2 separate regions of the Homo sapiens genome follow, and region 2 is linked to region 1. The links are contacts of gene promoters, found by promoter capture Hi-C in human tissues and cell types (Jung and others, 2019). All regions are on one chromosome and are shown on one strand. Each heading gives the region's core, a stretch centred on a gene start or on the middle of the fragment in contact. The rest is flanking DNA. Distances are from core to core; before and after follow the strand shown. Region 1 holds the start of NEK4 (NIMA related kinase 4). Region 2 has its middle 11 kb from the start of PRKCD.

Region 1 (6,610 bases), core at 3,395-5,894:
CACAGAGCAGCTTCTGGGAAGAGTTTATTGTCCTTAGGCCACGGTCACCTTCTGGCCTGTCTTCTGGCCTTTGTAGAAGAGAAGCTGGATCGACATGACAGTGTACATTTGAAGTTCTGCTTATTTCCTGCACCAGTATCGACCAAGCCCTGCAGTGTGTTGGGCACAATGCCAGGCACTGAGAGGCCACCATACAGAAACCTGAGTGCCCTGCTGTGTTCAGTGAGCTGATGTCAGGGGAAAAGGGAATCAGACAAGTCAAAGGGAGCCCACTGAATCCCAAGGAGTGATGAGAAGCTGAAGAGATAGAAATTTGGAGGGGCAGAGGCTCATCTCCTGCAGGGATTAGGAGAAGGTTCCTGGATGAGGTGCCTGGAAAAAAGAGCAGTGCTTGGGAAGGGGAAGGCGGGAAGGGAGGGAGAGAAAAGCAGACGGGCAGGTGGGATGTATGCTGTGGGAAGGTAGAGGTGTCTGGGATGGGAGCAGGAGCTGATGAAGAGGGTAGGGAAGGTGGCTGGGAAGGGGGTTGGGACCAGCTGGCGCAGGGGTCTGAAAGTGATTAGCCTTTTGGGTGGGAGATACTTAAGATATTTTAAGCAAGGGTGTGATGAGTTCAAGACTGGGCTGTTGAGAGATGGCTAGCACCAAGCCTGGTCCATGTAAAGTGCTAGAAGCATGTTTGCACAGGGGGAGGGTGGACAGGAGATGGGGAGAGCTAACTATGACCTGTGCCTGTCATGCTTCTTAGCATCACGTCCGAATTCATTTACTGCTCACAACTCCCCACAAGAGACAGATATTATTGTTACTATTATCCTCATGGTACAGAGAAAGAGACGTTGGCCCACCATATGCATGTGGGAGGTGGGGGCCAGGGTGGACAGAAAGCAGCTATGGTTGCTGAGGATTGAGAATGGGGAGTGTAGCTGTGCTGCTGGTGCCGGTGGGACAGCACATGGGCCCAGACCTGCTCTGAGCGCCACCCACACACAGCCAACTGTCTGCTTGATGTGCCCACAGCCCCTCCATCTGGTATGTCCAAACTGAACTCCTGACCTTTGTCTCCTCCTCCCCACACCCCGTTACTAAGCCAGATCTTCCCCCTGTTGTCCACTCCAGTCAAGGCCACCGCCATCTAGTTGGCCATCCAAGCCAGAAGGCTGGGTGGCATCCTGGGTGCCTCAGTCTCCTTGACCACCTACCCCACCTCCCACCCTCTGAATATCCCTCTAATCCATTAACTTCTCTCCCCATCCCCCGTCACCACCTAGTTCAAGCTGCCCTCATCCCTCATTTAGACGGCTCATCTCCTCCTTCTGCTCTGCTCCAGGCAGCAGCCAGAGTCACCATTTAGAAAGGTCAGTCTGCCGCAGGCCTTTCCCTGTCTCGCACACCCTATCCTGAGTGGTATGGCCCCTGCTGACCCCTCTATGTCACCTAGCCCATGGCCCCTCTGAGTCTCTCAGCTTCAACTGCAGAGACTTCTTTTAGATCCAGGTAGGCAGGTGCTTCTCCATTCATTCATTCAGCAAGCGGCAATTCCTTCATTTATACCTGCTGGGTTTAGGGTGTTGAAGCAGACAGGCCTGGCCTCGTCCTCAGGGAGTTCACATTGCGGTGTGGAGGTAAAGTCACAAAATGAATCCACTGGATCTTAGCACATGTTGCTCCTCTGCCTGAAAAAGTTTTTGTTTAAACTTCCACTCATGCGGTGCTTGCTTGGGGCAACCTCTCCTGGATGGCCAGGCTGGGCCTGGCGGCTTTTCTGAACAGTACTGACCTCAGTTGGCAAGGGTAGCTTGTTAGTATGCATGGCCGTCTCCCTCTTCGACAGTAAGCCCCACATGGGCAGGCCCTTGTCTGTCTTGTTCATAGTTGTCCTCCAGGTCCAGGCTAGTAGACCCTTGCTAAATGTCTGTAGAATGAATGATAGGTTTTTTTTTTTTTTTTTTTTTTTAGAAGGAGTATTGCTCTGTCGCCCAGGCTGGAGTGCAGTGACATGATCTTGGCCCAATGCAATCTCCGCCTCCCGGGTTCACGTGATTCTCATGCCTCGGCCTCCTGAGTAGCTGGGATTACAGGAGCAGTGTGCCATAATTTTTTATTGTGGTAAAATATACAAAACATAAAATTTATTATTTAACCATTTTTAAGAATACAGTTCGGTGGCATAAGTACATTCATGTTTTGCATCCATCACCACCATCCATCTCCAGGACTTTTTCATTTTCCCCAGCTAAAACTCTGCACCCATTAAACACCAACCACCAATTCCCTCCTCTCTCCAACAACTGGCAACCACCATTCTACTTTCTGAATCTATGACTTTGACTACTACAGGTACCTCACATAAGCGAAATCATACTTTTGTCCTCTGTGACTGCCTTATTTTGTTTAGCATAATGTCCTCAGGGGTCGTCCATGTTGTAGCATGTCAGAACATCCTTCCTTTTTAAAAATTTATTTATTTTGAGACAGAGTCTCACTCTGTCACTCAGCTGGAGTGCAGTGGCAGGATCATGGCTCACTGCAGCCTCAACCTCCGAGGCTCAACTGATTCTCCCACCTCAGCCTCCCAGGTAGCTGGGACTACAGGCATGCGCCACCACACCCAGCTAATTTTAAAAATTTTTTGTAGAGAAGGGGGTCTCACTGTGTTTCGTAGGCTGGTCTCAAGTGATCCTCCCACCTTGGCCTCTCAAAGTGCTGGGATTAGGTGTGAGTCATAGTGTGTGGCCTCTAGAGCACTAACTTTAAAAAGCTACAATTACAAATCCTTCCTCTGTCCCTCTGAGATATATACCTATGTATTTCCTACAACCTAGGAATGTCTTTCTCAAGGACCTGAAATCCATTCCTTTGGAATGTAATCATCATAAAGGTAGGGCTCATGTCTCCCAGTCTATGTGGGAGAATAGAATCCTAACTTCCCTAATTGCCAGCTAGCAGACACAGTTGGCCTAATCACATTTACGCTAAGCACTCCTTTTAATTTTTCACTTCCCAGACTCTAAGTGAGCCCCTGCATGCTCCCCTGCCTACTCCCTTATTCTTCCTTTGGAATGCCCAATCACCCCTGCGCAAATGGAATGGAGTTCAGCTGCTTCCCCTACTGTCAGTAGTTACTGAATAAAATCTATTTTCATCATTTTAATGCCTGGCTTTGTTTATCTTTAATAATATCATTAACTAGAGTTCAATCTTTATTTATGGTTCTTTTTGTTTGGTTTTCTAGTGAAGATGAAATTGCTTTGAGTAAAATGTGCAAATACTAAATGTACCATTAGATAATTTTGACAAATTCATACACCCAAATCTCCTATCAAGATATATATCAAGGATGAGGAGAAATTTGAACCCCTGTGGATTGCTAATGGGAATGTAAAATGGTTCAGCTTGCTGTAAAAAATGGTGTGGTGGTTTCTCAATACATTAAACTAGAATTAGCATATGATCCAGCAATTTCACTTCTGAGTGTATACCCAAATGAATTAAAAAGAAAGCAGGGACTCAAACAGATATTCGTACACCCATGTTCATAGCCGAATTATTCACAATAGCCAAAAGATGGAAGCTATCCGTGTCCATGACTGCATGAATGGATAAACAAATTGTGGTGTATACATATAATGGAATATTATTTGGCCATAAAAAGGAAAGAGGCCAGGCACGATGGCGCACACCTGTAATAACGGCATTTTGGGAGGCCAACGTGGGTGAATTGCTTGAGCCGAGGAGTTCAAGACCGGTCTGGGGAACATAGTGACACCCTGTCTCTGAAAAAAAATAAAATAGGATTAGCCAGGCATGGACGTGTGTGCCTGTAGTTGGGAGGATGGCTTGAGCCCAGGAAGTCTAGGCAGCAGTGAGCACCATTGCACCACTGCACTCCAAGCTGGGTGGCAGGGCGAGACCCTGTCTCAAAAAAAAAAAAAAAAAAAAAAAAGGAAAAAAAGGAAGCGCTCTGGGAAAGGGAGGCTTTGGCTGGAACAAATGGTGAATTCTTTTGGCACCCCTGAGCTTTCTTGGGCAGGCATTTTAAAGGGGCCTAGGCCCACCTAGAGATCCGCCCTTAGGCTGTTAACTTAGCATGATGCCATGTTAGAGTTTAGTCAAGTCTCTTAGTGCAGTGGTTAGGGTAGTCGTTAAATGCTGAGGAGTCTTTGTAGTTCTCAATTAGCAGGCGAGTTTTTAGGGATGAAAGGTACTGATAATTTACTTTGAATGTATCAAAAAATAGGATGGATTGCTGGATGCAGAGACGGCATGTGATAAAGCGGATACAGCAAATGTTACTGGTAGAGAGTCTGTCACCCAGTCATTAGAACATGAGCTCCAGGAGGGCAGGGACTTTGTTGGCCTGGCACATAGGCGGTCAACAAATATTTGCAGAATGAACGAACAATACTTGTAACGGCCTTAGGACAAACAAGTGCACAAAAAGAGGAAGCTTTCCCTGACTCTGTTGTGGCGGGGATCCGGACGGTGGAACGGACGCACAGAAAGTGCGCGGAGCCTGGCGGAGTCGCTCTGGCCTCCTGGAGCCTCTGCTCTATGGCGGGTCCTCCCGGGGCTGCGGAACCTCTCTGGCCGCTCGTGGCGTCCGCTCTATGGCCGTCCTTTGGGGACGCAGGAGCATGCGCAGAACTGCTCCCGGCCCGGATCGCTATGGCAGCGGCGTCGTCGCGGGCCGGGCCCCAGCAATCCCGCCCGGGCCCGGCTGCCTCAACAGCCGCCCCCACTGCCCCCTCTCGGGCATGAACCGAGCTTCTTGTTGCCGCCCGCTGCCCTACCCGCCGCTGCCGCCGCATCCCGACTCTGGGCCAGCGCTGGGAACATGCCCCTGGCCGCCTACTGCTACCTGCGGGTCGTGGGCAAGGGGAGCTATGGAGAGGTGACGCTTGTGAAGCACCGGCGGGACGGCAAGCAGGTCTGCAGGGGTGGGGCCCGGCAAGGGGCGGGGGCGGGCAGAAGTGCGCCGAGGGCGCCGACCGGTAGATTAGGTCGGGGGTGGTCGCAAGAGGCTCATCTCGGATGGCGTTTCCTCAGGGAAATGGTCCCAGACCAAGACGAGGCCTGGCCTCCCTGTAATATGCGCCCAGAACTACTTCTACTTCTTTGTTGTGTTAAATTTTTTTCCTTTTAATTTTCATTTTCTTTAATTACAATTCTAAGTTTTATGTAAAAATTTTCAGTCTCTGCCTATCTACTTCTTTGTTGTACTAATTGGCATGCGTGATCTACACACCTTTCTCCCAACCCCGATACTCTCATGAGAGCCGGTATCATGCATTCCCAGGACTTAATACAGCGCCTAGCAAGCATTATTCCTTGAATGAAGGGCCCCAAACGTCTCTACTGTAGACTGCTGGATTCACTTAAAACTCGACTCATTTTCTTCCCGCCAAACCTTCTCTCATGTCTTCCGTTTCAGTGAATAGTGACACCAACCCACCAGTTGCCCAAGCCGGACACCTGGAGTCATTTTTAAGCCTCCCCACGCACCCCAACACTGATTATATTCATCTATCACTAAGACAATAGGCCTCCTCTCATCTCTACTGCTACCACCCCAATCCAGGACACCCTGTTGTCTCTAGCAAAGCTATGGCCACGGTTTCCCAACTGGTCGCCGCCACTTGACTTGCTTTTCTCCAATCCATCACTTTCACTGCAGCCTCAGTGATCTTTCTCAAATTTAAATCTGATGTTGTCACTCCTCTGTTTAAAACACTTTATCCCATTACTCTCAGGATAATGAACCAATTATTCAATGTGGTTTATTAATAGGGTGACAATATAATGTACAAACTGGGACAATTTTGAAACTGAAAGGCATTATTAATAGTTACACCAGGACAGTAGGACTGCTCCAGGCAAGCTGAGAAGAGATGTTCCCCCTAAATATAGGGCCCAATTGCCTGTTCTTCCTTGTCTCTGGTGCTAGTTGCTTTGCGTGGAACACAAGCTCATGCATAAGAAATTTATTCAGTAGGCATTGGGGGAATCATTGGATTTTGGGGCTGATGATAGGGAACTAGCAATAGCTAGTTATTTGAGCTTTAGTTTACACTTCACAAAACACATTTATCTATGTGTTGAAGAAATGAATTGTATGGTCTTTGAAATGATTGAGGGCAATGTATTAGGTATTAGAGGCTATTGATTTCTTTTAAGTGTGAATAATTTTGTATGCTGAAGATCAGTGACTATTAAACTTATGGGGCCATGGATCCCTTTGAGTATCTAACGTAATCCACAGACTATTCTGTCTGCAAATGTATAGTCAAGCTATATTTTATTCACCTTTTTGGGAGAGCTTAGATATTAAGGAATTTCTTTTTTTATTTTTTATTTTTTTTGAGACAGAGTCTTGCTCTGCCTCCCAGGCTGGAGTGCAGTGGTGCGATGTTGGCTCACTGCTGCAACTACTGCCTCCCAGGTTCAAGCAATTCTCCTGTGTCAGCCTCCCGAGTTGCTGGGACTATGGGTACACACCACCACGCCGGGCTAATTTTTGTATTTTTAGTAGAGACAGGTTTCACCATGTTGACCAGGCTGGTCTTGAACTCCTGACCTCAGGTGATCCACCCGCCTCACCCTCCCAAAG
Region 2 (7,261 bases), core at 1,539-4,038, 380 kb before region 1:
TCCCTCTGCCTCCCCACCCATCTATGTGTGGCTGCCAAGCCACAGTCTGATGCTCCATTTCATCTCCCAGTTCACTGAGGAAGACAGAATAGGGTTACCAGGAGGAAGTGAGGGCAGGGGATGACCGGGGACATCAGGATGCCTCCTACATCCCTGTCCTTCACGTGGGAGCTGGTATCACTGACTGTCCCCCAAATGTGCCTCCCCTGGATTGCCTCAACCCCACACCACCACTGATCCAGGTCCCCTGGCTATCCCCAGCTTTGAGGGAACCCTAGAAGCTGAGGGGCAGGCCAGCTTCCCAGATCTTGTCTGCCAGGGGGCCCAGGTGGGTGTAGGGTGAAACTTCTGGAAGAAGGCTAAGCGCTGAAGTGCCTACCAGGCTAGGGTAGGCCTGGGCAAACATTAGTGAGCAAGTTTGTGTCCAGGTAGTGAGTTGTGGCAACACTGAGGCTTCCACGGGCCCTCGGTGGACACACACAATGCCAGTGAGCCTGCGGAGACGCTGGACCCTCAGGTAGAGGCCTGCTCAGCCATGCCTCTGACTGGCTGCAGGATCCTGGCAGGGCCTTGCCCCTCTCGGTCTCTGTGGCTGCAGCTACCCAGAAAAGGTGATGGGACAGTAGATACTAATTTACCTCTGCTACCAGGGAGAGGCTGAGTGATTAAAAACCGCCTATCAGGACAACCTGCAGAGTAAGAGCAACCCCAGTTTACAGTTGAGGAAGTCAAGGCTCAGGGAGGCAAGCCCAAGGCCAGGTAGCAGGGCCAGGCCCGACGTCTGTGCGAGGCTGGACGAAGGTCAGGACGAAAACCTGGTGGCTTCAGAGGCAGGTGTGCCCAGGCTGCAGGCTTCTCCTCCTGGCTCAGCCTGCTCTAACTGTGTGACCTCAGGCAGGTGGCTCAGCTTCTCTGAAACACGATGGGAGGATGATGAAAGACCCAACGGTCAGTGGTCACATGGACTGACTGATGGAGCAAGGGAGAGGAGGAAGAAGATGCCTGGCTTCCTTGCCGGTTGAGCACAGGGTCTGATGGGAGGATGGACAGGAGTGGGCAGCCACCTCATTGCTGTCTAATTGCCTACACCTGGGGTAAAGCAGGGATTCCCGTCCATCCCAGAGACGAGGAAACTGAGGCTCAGGTGAAGCCCGGCCCAAGGCCACACAGGTTGTTGCAGGGCGCTGAGGCAGGAGTCCAAGACCTGGTGTGTTCACGTGTCCTGCGGAGGGTCTCAGCCCCTTCCCTAGCCGAAGACGGATGCTGCCCTGGGGCCAGCTCTGCTGCCTGGTAGTCAGTTCTGACAGGGACGTGGCCAGGACAACGTCTCAGGAAACTGGAGCCGGGGTGGACATTCTGCAAGATCTGCTTGCAGGGGACCAGATGGTGACCTGGACTTCGGCCCATGGCCCACCAGAGGAAGGGAGGGAGTCCCACAAGTACCTGTTTTCCTCTGACACAGAGGTTCTGGGCTGGAGCCTCCCTGCTGTTGCATGCCTGTGTGACTGCCCTCCAGGGTCCCCTCTTCCTCTCCTCATGCCTGAGGGGCAGCCCAAGCCCCTGAGCCTGAGTCCGCTGAGGGAGTCAGAATGCATGAGTGAAAGGGCCTATTCTTACGGAGGTGTTGAAAGTGGTGGCCAAGGTCAGGAGTGTCCTGGGGCTACTGGGGGCTGGTCTTCTGGCAGGGAGCTCAGCCACTCAGCTATGTGACCCTGGGCACATCACCTTCCCTCTCTGGCTTCCACTCGCTGCTAACAGAGGCTCATAGAGAGTAGACAAGAGGAGGGCCTAGCACCGTGCCTGGATCAGAGCGAGTGCTCAGTGGATTATTGCCAGCTTTGTTATTATGATTTAATTTGTTAACCTCAGGGTGTATTTTAGGGTAGGACAGGAAAGCTTGCATGCCTCAAGCCCTCTGTATAAAATCTAAGGCATGGCTTCATATGGTGGCTCATGCCTGTATTCCCAGCACTTTGGGAGGCCGAGGAGGGCAGATCATTTGAGGTCAGGAGTCTGAGATCAGCCTGGCCAACATGGTGAAACCCCACCTCTACTAAATACAAAAAATTAGCCGGGCGTGGTGCCGCATGCCTGTAATCTCAGCTACTCAGGAGGCTGAGGCACGAGAATCACTAGAGCCCGGGAGGCAGAGGTTGCAGTGAGCCAATATCATGCCACTGCACTCCGGCCTGGGTGACAGAGCGAGACTCTGCCTCAAAAAAAAAAAAAAAAAAAAATTTCTGTGCGAGGGCCAACAAAGCAGGGAAGGCTTCACCAAAAAGGTGCCCTTGGTGCTGGGCCGGGAAGAGCAAGAAGGAATTCCTTAGTGGGCAGTGGTGGGAAGGCAGAGGAGGCAGAGAAAGCACTCCAGGCAGAAGGAACAGCCTGAGCAAAGGCTTGAAGGTAATGAGCCCGCTGCATCCAAGGCTGACTCTAGGGAAGGCTGAGGGGCTGCAGGGTGGGATTCGCAGGGCACTGGTTACTGCTGGCAGGTGCCTCAGGGGCCAGTTGAAGATTCACACTCACAGCGGCCTTGGGTGCCATACAAAAGCCTGGGTTTGTGGTGAAGATCATGGGAAATGAAGCTTGGAAAGAGGGCTTTCCAGGCAGAAACTGGAGGGGAGAAGATCTGGAGGAAGGTCACTCAAGGCAGAGGAAACAGTAAGAGCAAAGGCTGGAGGCAGGTGTGAGTGCACCAGGCACCTTTAAATGAGTGGGAAAATGAAGCCATGACCTATATGATTCATATGAATGCTTCCTGGGTCTCTGGAGCCAATCGGGTAGGAACCAGAGTGCTGGCCATGCCCAAGCCCGATGCAGGGGTGGAAACTCAGAGCCCAAGACTTCCACCAGCCCACGTGCCCAGCTTCCCTGTCCCAAGGAAGTACCCAAGACCAACTGCAGTGTGCTCCAGGAGCACAAAATGTCCCCACATGAAAGGGCACTCATGGGTATGAGTGCAAGGAGACTTTCCAATAAATCTTTGCCATTCTGACCTTTGCTCTGCAAACTTGGCTGGCTCAGCCCTTACATAATGAGCTGCTGGGACACTGGCCAGCTGACTCAAGGATGAGTATAGGGTGCTCCTGGGCCACCTTGAACCCTTCCTTTCCTTCACTGTCAATTCTAAAACCTGAGTCTACAGGTCTCTGGGCTTCCAGGAGCTATCCTTTTTGGCAATTGAGACTTAGATCCTGTATGTTTTTGTTCCTTCCCTAGCTGCAAGGTCACCCCTTGAGTGCCATGTCCTGTCCTCCTGATCACTCCCCACTGCCACCACACACATGACTCCCACCTTGTGAGGGCCGGGTACACAGCAGGTACTCAGTGAAGACCAGGTTTCCTGTGTTGACATCGCTGTGCCCAGAGACAGCACTCAGCAACCTTAGTGACTGCATGTTTCTTGGCTTCTTCAGCCCCCAGCCTCCATATAGCAAGGGCCAAAAGTTAAGCTGCATGGGGTTGGCCTGGACTTCTGGGGCTCCCTGCACCCAGGAGCACTGGCAGGCCCTGCCCTGGAAGTCTCTATGGGATCCAGAGAAATATGGGCTCTGCCATGGGGGTCAGACGCAGCAGGCAGGAATGTGTCCAAGAGAAGAGGGAGCAGCAGTGCATGATTAAGCACCATGGGGCAGGCCTGCCATGCTAATGGCCGTGGGGTCCGTAGGTACTCAGGCACACACGGGGTTGTTTCTCCTACCTGGAGCCTGACTTCCTTCTCTCCCTGCTTCAAGATGAGGGAGTTTTGGGTGGGAAGCTACCATCACTTCCTTTATCATCACCCTGGTCGCTGTTGGGTGAGTGTGCAAGGACACATATGTGCATGCATTCTTATGCTTAAGAGGCATGGCGTGGGGGCAGCAGGGTAGGAGATGCCAGGTGCAAGCAGGCAAGAGTGTGTGGCCTCCAGAGATGGCTCAGGCTCAGGATCCGCTCCCGAGACACCCTCATTCCACACCACCCCAGCGGAAGTTTTGACAGCGTCTTTCCACATAAGACCAAGGCTTTCCCTCCTGAGGGGAGGAGGGAAGGGGGACAGAGCAGAGGAGAACAAGGAAAAGAGTCCACTGTGCCTTCCCGGCCTGGATCCTCCTGTGTGCTCTACTCTGTGTCCCAGAGGGCCTGCATTGCTTCCCATTGACTCTCCCAGCTACCCAGGCTCCCCGGCGCAGCCCCTGCCCCCAGGGACTGGGCAAAAGGGAGTCTGTGGGCCGGGCACAGTGGCTCACGCCTGTAATCCCAACACTTAGGGAGGCTGAGGTGGATGGATCACTTAAGGCCAGGAGTTCGAGACCAGCCTGGAAACATGGTAAAACCCTGCCTCCACTAAAAATACAAAAAAATTAGTTGGGCATGGTGGCACATGCCTGTAATCCCAGCTACTCGGGAGGCTGAGGCATGAGAAATGCTTGAACCTGGGAGGCGGAGGTTGTAGTGAGCCCCAAGATCATGCCACTGCACTTCAGCCTGCCGAGACTCCATCTCAAAAAAAAAAAAAAAAAAAAAGTTGGGGGTGTCTGTGGAGACCATGGGCATGGGATCTTTTCGTTCTTTCTTTCTTTTTTTTTTTTTTGAGACAGAGTCTCGCTCTGTCGCCTAGGCTGGAGTGCAGTGGTGTGATCTCAGCTGACTGCAACCTCTGCCTTCTGGGTTCAAGCGATTCTCCTGCCTCAGCCTCCTGAGTAGCTGGAACCACAGGCACGCGTCACCACACCTGGCTAATTTTTATATTTTTAAATGGAGATGGAGTTTCACCATGTTGGCCAGTCTGGTCACAAACTCCTGACCTCAGGTGATCCGCCCACCTTGGCCTCCCAAAGTGCTGGGATTACAGGCGTGATTACAGGATACAGGGATTATTACTGTGCCTGGTGGAGACCATGGGATCTTGAACCCTAGACCCTGCACTCAGAGGTCAGCCTCCTTGGAAGGGCCTCCTCCCTGAAGAACTCAATTTTTGATCCTGTCTGGCAGCAACTGGTGCTAAGCTGCCCAAAGGCACTGTCTGGGCATCAAAATAAAACCTGAAAATTGCTACCCCGCCCAGTACCGCAGAGCTCTGCCAAAAGGTAATTATAGGTGGCCTGGGGTGGCCAGCTCTGCATATAGCCCTAAGCTCAGCAGGCCCAGGGCCACAGGCTGCAGGGAGCCCTGCCCCTGCCCCTCTTGTTCTGCACCAGGCCTAGTGCAGAGTGTTCCAAGTCCCAGCTCCAGGGCCCTCCATCAGCCTACAGGCCTCCAGATCTTGGTTGTGGTCCCCTGGGTGTCTGGGTGGATTCCAGACTCTACAGAGGGTGTGAAGAGAGCTTGGTCTCAGCTTCACATCATAACAAGAACAGTAATTCCAGCCCCCACATATCAAGCACTCACTACCTACCAGGCCCTGAACTAACACTTGATGTTCCTTAATTCACAAACTTCCCACAAAGCCCCTATGATATGGGTACCATCATTAGTCCCATTTTACAGGAGGGGATACTGAGGCCCTGGGAATCTAAGTGACATGCCTATGGTCACCCACAGTACCCTGGGTTCTGGGCCAGACTTCACAACCACTAGGCCAGCTTGTCCCTAAAGCCACAGAGGTGAGAGTGAGACAGTGGGTAACTGGCCTGGGTGGAGTGAGACAAGTGACCGGCGTGGAGGCGTCAGCAGCTGGCAGGGGAAGGACAGTTTCCCTTCTGAAAGCTCATTTGCCAACTGTGAGGCCTGTGTGGCCTCACAGGTGGGTGTCTAGGGGGAAACAAGAGACTGGGGAAGGCAAGGGTAGGCACACAGTCTGGCTGCCTCACAGCCGGCACTCTTGGCCATGCCATCTCCCCTGCAGCCTGCCCAGATCTTCTCAGCCCAGAGGGAACCTGTGTGTCCCTGCCTGCTCTTCCCCACCTACAGCGTGGGAAGTGGTGTGAGGGCAGGGCTCCACCCAGGACCGCTTTGTGCCCCTCGCACTGTCCTGGGCGCAGTGGGGGTGTGTGAGTCTACTGCACCCCATCTCCTGCCACACAAGACTCACTGCCTGGGCCTAGCCAAGTTTGCTGTCTGGAATTTGCCTTAAAAAACTCCCAGTCTCTGCTGACTCGTGAGGGCTGAGCTGCGACTTCCCTTGTCCCTGGGCTAAGGTCTTAGTCCATACTACTAGGAAGTTCTAACTGACGTCTCACTTGCATCTAACTGGCTTCTCACTTGCTGTCTGTCATTTTCTCTTCTCACTGGTTCCCTTTCTGGTTCTTGCAGAGGCAATAGTAAATAGGCCATGTGTTCATGTTTCTCATCTACACAGAAAATGGTAACTCTAAATGACTTCTGCACTGACCTTGTTAGTCAACAGTGAATCTACAAACCTTTATTAAATCCCTACTCTGCTGAGAGCTGAGGAAAGGTAGAAGAAGGGGGTGGCAAATTCCTAGGTGAGCTACTGTGCCCACTTCTGTGCTTGAGGCAGATATTGCTAAGTGATCACAGAGCTTCTTGCCGAGCCTGGAGGGATATAGCTCAGAATCCTTGTCAACACAGCTCCAGGGAGCCATTGGCGACCAGCTGGAATTGATACATCAGTTGAAATCCATTGGCCCTCCCTTTGCAGCCCACCTCCTGCCAAGGATTGAGGCCAGGGTCAGGCCAGGGCTTCTTGTGCAAAGCTGTCCTTGCCCTGTCCCCCCCTTGCACTGCCCATGCCCTGATTTCTTTGTCCTCGTTCTCAATGCCTGACACAGGATGGGGAGAAGGCAGACAGTATCATCTGTCTTCTGTCTCAGGTTCCTGCAAGGCTGCGATAGCCTAGTTAGGGATGCGGCCCCACAGTGGCACAGTGCCTTTGGATGGAAGGCATCTGGGCTGCTGCATCAGAGCACCTTCCACACCCGCCTCCATCCGAGACTTGAGACCCTCCCCAGAGCACATCTTCTCAGAACTGCTCTGGGGCCCAGGGATCACAGGTCCCCTTGCCCAGCCTTCTGCTCCCAAGGTGCTCACTGTGCATTCCTTCCCAGGTCAAGGACAAAAGTCTGACTTCTCCCTTGCCCTTTCCAGCCATTCAAACACATGGATTGGCACCCACTGGGTACCAGAGCCCTTGGGAGGGGTCAGGAGCTTCCCTGAGCAGAAACGGAGGGTCCCTGACTCAAGGAACTTGGGGTCCTCAGGGGAAAGAGTCAAGGTCCCAGATGGGTTATTGAGGAAGCATTAGACTTAGGGCCAGACAGACAGGTCAATCCCAGTACTGCCACTTGGGCCTGTTTTCTTGTCTATAAAATAAGGATAA

What was found. Contacts are between HindIII fragments. The study calls those that stand out against the background at their distance.
Region 2: a contact is called between a fragment that was not itself captured here and the fragment with the promoter of NEK4 in region 1, in 1 of the 25 tissues and cell types used here (lymphoblastoid cells).

What each region holds. Positions count from the first base shown.
Region 1 is chr3:52,768,974-52,775,583 of GRCh38, reverse strand. NEK4 (NIMA related kinase 4) reads left to right here and starts at 4,644. Exons shown (of 16, transcript NM_003157.6): 1 at 4,644-4,930. The coding sequence starts at 4,838. RefSeq lists enhancers at 4,513-4,562, 4,350-4,867 and a silencer at 4,723-4,832. The HindIII fragment of the contact is 13,261 bases long and covers 1,296-6,610 here.
Region 2 is chr3:53,146,101-53,153,361 of GRCh38, reverse strand. No RefSeq gene overlaps it. Among named protein-coding and RNA genes, the nearest start is that of PRKCD, 11 kb to the left of the region's middle. RefSeq lists an enhancer at 3,800-4,607. The HindIII fragment of the contact is 4,568 bases long and covers 505-5,072 here.